2 separate regions of the Homo sapiens genome follow, and region 1 is linked to region 2. The links are contacts of gene promoters, found by promoter capture Hi-C in blood cells and fetal thymus (Javierre and others, 2016). All regions are on one chromosome and are shown on one strand. The core of a region is centred on a gene start or on the middle of the fragment in contact, and the rest is flanking DNA. Distances in the headings are between cores, read along the strand shown. Region 1 holds the start of ZNF48 (zinc finger protein 48). Region 2 holds the start of CORO1A (coronin 1A).

What was found. The method cuts DNA at HindIII sites, captures the fragments that hold promoters and counts their contacts. A CHiCAGO score of 5 or more calls a contact.
Region 1: a contact is called between a fragment that was not itself captured here and the fragment with the promoter of CORO1A in region 2, in 1 of 17 cell types (fetal thymus). The highest score is 5.7, in fetal thymus.

Annotation. Positions count from the first base shown.
Region 1 is chr16:30,393,007-30,396,651 of GRCh38, reverse strand. It overlaps ZNF48 (zinc finger protein 48), which reads right to left and starts at 1,232. Exons shown (of 3, transcript NM_001214909.2): 1 at 1,074-1,232; 2 at 779-872. The coding sequence starts at 857. RefSeq lists enhancers at 214-810, 2,812-3,312 and silencers at 781-1,040, 1,131-1,320. The HindIII fragment of the contact is 3,819 bases long and covers 165-3,645 here.
Region 2 is chr16:30,181,865-30,186,030 of GRCh38, reverse strand. It overlaps CORO1A (coronin 1A), which reads right to left and starts at 2,429. Exons shown (of 11, transcript NM_007074.4): 1 at 2,306-2,429; 2 at 624-822. The coding sequence starts at 821. It overlaps CORO1A-AS1 (CORO1A antisense RNA 1), which reads left to right and starts at 1,243. Exons shown (of 2, transcript NR_186359.1): 1 at 1,243-1,527; 2 at 2,260-2,638. RefSeq lists enhancers at 1-96, 1-525, 1,066-1,607, 1,608-2,148, 3,567-3,676 and 1 more and silencers at 527-626, 1,997-2,106, 2,137-2,596, 2,737-2,846. The HindIII fragment of the contact is 25,461 bases long and covers 1-4,166 here.

The DNA.
Region 1 (3,645 bases), core at 825-3,324, 210 kb before region 2:
ACTCAAGCCCGTGTTAATCCCTACATTATATTGTCTATTTGGAAAACTTGGTATTTGCTATTATTATTGTATCTTATTATATTAGCCCATTCGGTAATTTATTACATCAGTTATCCTGTGTGTACCTGAGAGGACCCAGGCACACATCCCTTCCTCAAGAAGCTTAGGGTGGTAGGAGAGATAAGATTAAAGTATCAATGGTTATAATTGTGGGTGCAGAATAACTAGAATAACTATGTTGTCACAAGAGAGATAGGAGATAAGGAAATAGGAACCGGCATTACGGCAGAGCGAAGAGAAAATAATGGAGTGGAATGGAAGATAAGGTGTCAAAGGATGTTGGGACTAACCTGAGCACGCACGGTTTGGATTGGACACTAGCTAAGGCTTTTAATTAGGAGACTGGGGGACGCTAGGGAAGGTTTTCCAGAAGAGACACAGGATTATATCTGGACTTAGATCAAGCTGGCGAGAGAATGCATCAGTGGAGAGAAAGGGGCAGAGAGGAGGCTACTGCAATTGCCAGGATAAAACAGAATGAAGCCTGAAGTAGGGCAGAGGCAGTAAGGATGAGGAAGGCCGTGAGGGAGGGGACAGAGGCCGTGAAGAGCCCCTCCCGGCCTGGCGCACAGTTGGTGCTCCGAAAGCTCCCCTCCCCCTATCTCCCCAGAGGCACAGCTCACGTCCGATCTTCCAGGATCTCGGCCGGCCACAGCCAAGCATCGCAGTCCCCACCGGCCGTTACCTGTCCGTGGCGGCGCACGGCCGAGGCCCTCACCTGTGCGGGCGCCTCTCTGTGGCTCCCTCTCCTCCGGGCGGTGGAGATCTGGGCCCCAAGGCTCTACCGCGCGCTCCATCGCCGGCACGCCGCCCTGAGCAAGGGGACAGACAGCATCCCGCGGTCACGCAGCCATGTGTGGCCCGCGGCGCCCTGCCGCTGCCCTCTGCCGGCCAGCGCGGGCACCGGGCGGCGTCGGGTCCCAGGTACGGGCGCGGCTCCCGGTGCCCCCTGCCCGCGCCGCCGGCCGCCCCTGCACCTGCTGCTCCTCCCAGCGCGCAGCCGCCGCTCTCACCTTGCCGGCCGCCTCCGGCTCCGCCACCCCGGCGCCCTCCGGAGCTCCTCAGCGGGGTGCAGGCGCCCGAGCCGCCAGCGGCTCCGGGATGCAGGCTCCGCGCCAAGCCGGGAGCGGGCTCGGACCCAGGCGTCCCGGGGGCGGCCACCGGGGGCGGGGACGGGAAGCGGAAGCGCGGGGCCGCACGGAGCCGCTCTAGGACCTTGGAGGAGCTGCGGGCCTGTGGGGGTCGCCCGCGTCGGCGGTAGCTCTGTGGCCGGCGGGCGGCAGCGTGCGGCCCAGGGGCTACTCTAAGCCGAGGCCGGCGGCCCGAACTCGGTGGTATTAACCGTGTGCCTCCTGGGCTGCAGCTGGGTGGTGAGGCCCGAGGCTCTTCGTAATTGTGGCTGTGTGTCTCCAGCCACCCGCGCCGACCTCCCCGGCCGGCCGACAGCGCCAGCCACTCCGACCTGGGAGAGACAAAGAAAGAGGGATCCAAAGACGGACCCGGGGAAAGGGGTGGGGGAGAGACCAAGGCAGACAAAGGGCGGCGGAGACCCCAGACGGGGCGGGGCGGGGCGCCGAGACGTGGGAAACAAAGCGGGGCTGGTCCGAGAGGCCGAGGGCCCGGGGTGGGGGTGGGTATGGAATGGGGGCTGGGCTGGGGAGACCGAGGCAGGAGCAGAGGCTAGAGGCAGACACCGGGTAAATGCTGCTGGAGAGATGGAATCAGACCTGGGGCCCGGAACAGAGACCCTGAGCCAGAGACTCACATCAGAGCCCTGAGTCACAGAGGACGCAAAGGCAGAGAGAGACCGAGGGACAGCGGCTGACCAAAAATAAGGGGAGCCAAAGATTAGCCGCTAGAGACAGAGACGTAGAAACGGATAAGAGATAAAGTCATTGACGCAGAGTCCGAGGAGCAGTAAGAGGCTGGGAGCCTGGAGAGTAACAGGCCCAGAAGCAGAGGAACAAAAGACGATAGTGAGCGAAACGGGCAGAGACAAAGAGAAAGAGACACAAAGAAAGAGGCGGCCAGAAAGACTCCGGACAGGTCGGCAGCCCTATAGAGGCCAGGCTCAGGGAGAGGCTGAAGAACAAGCCCTGTTTCCCATCCTGGTGGGCCCCTGGCTGGAGCTGTGTTTCCAGGTTCCCAGGCCCTAGGAGCAAGATCCCAGTATCCGCTCTCTGGGCGGGCTTGGTTTTGGGGTGGAGAGAGTGTCTGGAGGTGTCTTCAGCCCCTCTGCCAATGATGGTGGGGGTAACTGTGGTTTATGCATTAATTCACATTTATTAGCATCTTAGTGCTAAGCCAAGAGTTGGGGATAAAAAGTTGAAACACCTGCAAGATTTGTCCTTGGAGAGCTACCAGTCTAAAGGAGCAAGTACACAAATCACTGAAATTAGAGAATTTAGCTGGGCCTGGTGGCCTGCCCCTGTAATCCCAGCTGAGAGGATTCCCTGAACCTGGGCATTCAAGGATGCAGTGAGCCATGATCGTGGATCGTGCCACTGTACTCCATGCTGGGCAACAGAGCGAGACCCTGTCTCTTTAAAAAAAAAAAAAAAGAGAGAGAGAATGGGCTGGGCCCAGTGGCTCATGCCTGTAATCCCAGCACTTTGGGAGGCCAAGGTGGGAGGATCACTTGAGGCCACTAGTTCGAAACCAGCCTAGGCAAAAAAGTGGACCTTGTCTCTACAAAAAAAAAACAAAAATTTAGCAGCGCATGGTAGCACATATCTGTGGTCCTGGCTACACTGGAGACTGAGGCAGGAGGATCACCTGAGCCCAGGAGGTTGAGGCTGCAGTAAACCATATTTGTGACACTGCCCTTCAGCCTGGGTAATAGAGCGAGACCCCATCTAAAAAAAAAAGAGAAAGAAAGAGAGACTGTTAAGGTAGTTATATGGACCCGGCCAGGTGCAGTGGCTCACACCTGTAATCCCAACACTTTGGGAGGCCGAGGCAGGTGAATTACATGAGGTCAGGAGTTTGAGACCAATCTGGCCAACATGGTGAAACCCTGTCTCTACTAAAAATACAAAACTTAGCAGGGCGTGGTGGCACGGGCCTGTAATCCCAGCTACTCAGGAGGCTGAGGCAGGAGTATCACTTGAACCTGAGAGGCGGAGGTTGGAAAGAGCCGAGATCACGCCACTGCATTCCAGCCTGGGTGACAGAGTCAGACTGCGTCTCAAAAAAATAAATAAATAAAATTTAAAAGGCCGGGTGTGGTGCCTCACACCTGTAATCCCAGCCCTTTGGGAGCCAGAGGCAGGAGCTCACTTGAGGTCAGGAGTTCCAGACCAGCCTGGCCAACATGGTGAAACCCCATCTCTACTAAAAATAAAAAAATTAGCAGGGCGTGGTGGCAGGCGCCTGTAATCCCAGCTACTTGGGAGGCTGAGGCAGGAGAATCACTTGAACCCCAGAGGCGGAGGTTGCAGTGAGCTGAGATCGCGCCATTGCACTCCAGCCTGGGGGACAAGAGCGAGACTTCATCTCAAGAAAAAAAAAAAAGAGTTATATGGACCAATTCACGATAGTGTGGGAGAACAGGAAGGGTTCTAGTTTGTAGTAATGAATCTCTGT
Region 2 (4,166 bases), core at 1,180-3,679:
TCACCCCGACAACCACTTCCTCTTCTCTTTGCTTCCATCAGCCCTTTTAAGGTAACAACTTGGGGCCCATCTCCCCTTCCTGTCTTACCCCCCAAAGAGCACAGGAGTGTGCTGGGGGTGCGGGGCAGCAGCCAGCCAGCGGAGGGGGCAGCAGGCTCCAGGGGAGGGCAGGGCTGCGGGTGGGGGAGAGCACCTCTTGCATCATCCCTGCCTGCGAGCTGGGGGACAGAGTTGCTAGGTCCTCAGACAGGCCCAGAGCCAGAGTCCCTCCCAACCCTGAGAACGCTGCCAGGGCCCCCAGACCCCATCCCAACCCCCTCTGTGTTTCCATGGGGAGAAAGCCCCAGGCTGAGGCTCAGGAGGGCTGATCATGGGTCTGCAGGACTGTCTGTAGTCCTGGTCACTGGTGTGACCCATCTTGTGTTGGCTCCTTCTGAGCGTCAGTTTCCACACAGCCACAGCACAGAGGAGCTGGAGGAAGTGTAAGGCTCATGGGGCCCAGCTCAGTTTTCCAGATGGCAACACAGGCCCTGGAAGGCCTGGTGACCGTCACCTAATCAGGACCTGCACAGAGCCATGGGTCCGGTGGAGGAGCTGCTCCCCCCAGGGCCCCAGGGGCTCACCTTGCCCAGGGGCAGCACCAGGAAGGCCCCTCCCCCGCTGGCCTCACAGATCAGGGCCACAAACTTAGGGTTGACAGCACAGAAGCCACTGTCCCAGGTGGTCTGTGAGACGCGCACATCTTCATAGCACTGGTCGGCCTTGGCCGGCTGTCCAAACACGTGGCGGAACTTGCTGGAGCGGACCACCTGCCGGCTCATTCTGGGGGCACACAGCATAAGAGCATTTCTCCCTTCAGGTCAACTCTGATCTTCCAGTGGTCCCCACCTCCCCCAGGACACCCCTCAGTCTGGCTTTTAAGGTCCCAGCATCATCTCCAGGGGCTCCCTATTCTTCCCTCTGTGGCTGATGCCTGCTTGCCTTCCCCAGCCTCTCCTTCCCTCTAACCTGCAAGCCCCCTTCTCCCTGGCCCCAGGCCACTCTGAGCCACCCTCTCAATCTGTACCCTCAGCCTCTGCAACAGAGCCTGGCGTGGTGTTGCCCCACTGCATGTTTGTTGACTGACTGGCTGATGGATGCAGAGCCCGTCCTTCCTAATGGTTCAGACTCAGGCGTCATCAGCCCAGATGGCTCCGAGGGTGGGTTCTCTCTTAGTTACCGTGTCCAGAGCCCACCTCCCTCACACCCACACAGCGCTTCCTAAAGGCAGGGACAGGAGCTGGCCTCCCTCGCCTGCTGGCATGGGGCTGGACACAGGAGGAAGTGGCGTGGGGGCTGCCTGAGGGGAGTGAGGCGGCAGGATAGCTTCCCCAGCAGGTCTCTGGCTCAGGTCCAGGTATCTCCTCCTCCCCATACCTCTGCCTCTCGCCTCCGCTCAGAAAAGCAGGTGCCCTTAAGAGCCATCTCCACCCCCATGTAAACTGCACACAGGAAGGGAGAGGCCACTCCGACTGCTCTGAGGTCCAGGTAGGATGGTTTCCCCCAGTGTCTGGGTGGGGAGCAAGGAACTCCAGGGGCGACCTTGTGCCACCGCATCACCTTCCTGCTCAGGGAAGGGGCCTGTGCTGCCGCTTGGAGGGTGCCATGCCCAGAGCCTCTGCCCCTAGCCTCAGCCTCGCCTACTCACTGGGGGCTCCAGCACCCCCGGCCACCCCAGGACTCCCGAAGAGGCTGCTAGGTCGGCCTGCCCAAAGAGCGGTGAGGAGCGTATGTGAAGAGCCCCAGTCTTGAGGAGCAGCCTGTATCTGGAGAGAGGGGAGCCCCGGACCAGAGGTGGGGGACAGGAAGCCATCGCCCCACCCTGCCTCCTCCCCCACCACAGGTACCAGGCCCGGAAACCACGGAAAGGGGAACTTGGTCTTTTCTTGTTTTGCTCTCAACCCCTTCCTGTCTCCAAGCCCAGGGCAGCTGCCCCGCTCACCCCACCCTGCCCTCGTCCCCACCCTCCCCGAGACTCAATTCCGTGGGGAGTCGGGCCCTCGACACTGTGCTGACCCCCGGCCACCCACCTCCATCTTGGCCGCGGTGGTCCCTAGCCCTCGCCTCCGCAGAGCGCTCTGGGGCCCCGGCGGCCCCCACTCCAAGCAGCGTCCCCCCACGGGCTGCTGCGCCCGCTACCTGGCCCCGGCGCTGGCTGGGTCGCGGTGACAGCCGCGCGCCCCCGCAGCCCGCGGCTCCCACGCGCGCGCCGCCCCACAGGTGGCCCTCGCCCCGGCCCACCCGCGCCTCCCAGGCCCAGCCTCACCTGCTGCCGAGAGAGGACAGTGATCCCCCAAAAGCCGGAGGTGGAGGAGGAGGAGGAAGAGGAGGAAGGAGCTGGAGGAGCCGGGGACTCGCCCGCTGAAGATGCTCTTGTCAAGACAATGAATGAGAAGCAGCCGTGCGCCCGCCTCCGGGGTGGCCGCGCCCCTTGGGGCGGAGCTCTTCCAGGCCCGCCCTGCGCTCCCGGGCTCCCGCTGCGGCCGCCTCTCTCCCCGGCCCCTGCCCGTGCACCACGTTGGTCCCCAACCATAGCGCAGGCTGCCATCCCGGCTCCGGGAAGCGAATCTAAACTTCTTTTTAAAATGTCAAAACGCAAGAGCACCCCATTGCTTCTTTCCTCCCTGCGTCCGCCCCCAGCCTCCTCGCCAGCCTTTCCCTGGCAGGCACGAAAGCGCCCCAGGCCCGCCCGCCAGGCCTCGGTGCCCGCCCCGGCCCGGCTGCGCCGCCCCTTCCTCCCGGCCCCGCAGACGCGAGCGCAGGGGGCGCGGGGGGCGCGGGGGGCGCGAGGGGCGCGGGGGGCGCGGGCGAGGAGGAGCCCCGAGCGCGCTCCTGGACCCCCGGGACCTGGCTCTTGCCTGGCTCTGAGATCTAAGCATGGGTGGCCCCGGGAGTCGCTTCTCCTCCCTGGATCTCCTGGCTTCATCGGGAACACCCCTGCCCTCCTGCTGAAATAATCCGGCATCACGGGCACCTACTTCGTGCCAGGGGCTACAGGGTCGAGCAAGGCAGGCAAGCCAGGCAGGTTTCCGCCCCTGAAGAGCCCAGCCTGGGGGAAGGAGGAGGAGCCCACGGCCGCTCCAAGCCCTGGCTTTGGCGAAGGCTCGAGGGCAAGGAGGAATAGTTCCCACCCTTGGATTCAGAGAGGCTTCTGGAGGCAGCAACAGCGGGCAGGAAAGGCCTGCTCTAGAGTCAGACTATGTCATGAGTGCGACCGCAGCCTGTCACCTGCTGAGTGAGGTGTGGCCGCTACTTAGCCTTTCTCAGCCTCGGTTTCTCCCTCTGTAACAGTCATACCTGCCACGTAAGAGGTATGGGGATGATTACCTAAAATAACCCAAGGAAGTCAGTAAGGACCTCATCTAGAAAGTGGCGGGTGCTTAATAAACGTTAGCTCTCAGCCATGCGTAGTGACTCACGCCTGTAATCCCAGCACTTTGGGAGGCCAAGGCTGGCGGATCACCTGAGGTCAGGAGTTCGAGACCAGCCTGGCCAACATGGTAAAACCGCATCTCTACTAAAAATACAAAAATTAGCGTGGTGTAGTGATGCACCCCTGTAATCCCAGCTACTGAGGAGGCTAAGGCATGAGAATAGCTTGAACCCTGGAGGCAGAGGCTGCAGTGAGCCAAGATTGAGCCACTGTTATCACCCAGTCTTCTCTGGGTGAAAGAGCAAGACCGTCTCATTTTAAAAAAAGTTAGCTCTCATCATTCTTGTTTAAAAAGTATCTGGGCTGGGCCTGAAAGGATTAGGAAGAGCCAACAGGCAAGGCTAGAGGGGTGACCTGTAGGCTGAGGGACAGCCCTGTCGTGTGGAGAAGTTCAAGGAACAGCAAGGGACGGGTTCAAGTCCCACCTCTGCCACTGACTGGCTGTGCGATCTTGGCCAAGAGGGCTAATCTCTCTGAACCTCATTTTGTCATTGGTAAATGGGGAATTAATAAGATTTGAACTGCCCACCTCACAAAGTTATGAGGCTCTGGCCGGGCGCAGTGCCTCACGCCTGTAATCCCAGCACTTTGGGAGGCCAAGGCGGGCAGATCACGAGGTCAGGAGATGGAGACCATCCTGGCTAACATGGTGAAACCCCCTCTCTACTAAAAATACAAAAAATTAGCCAGGCAT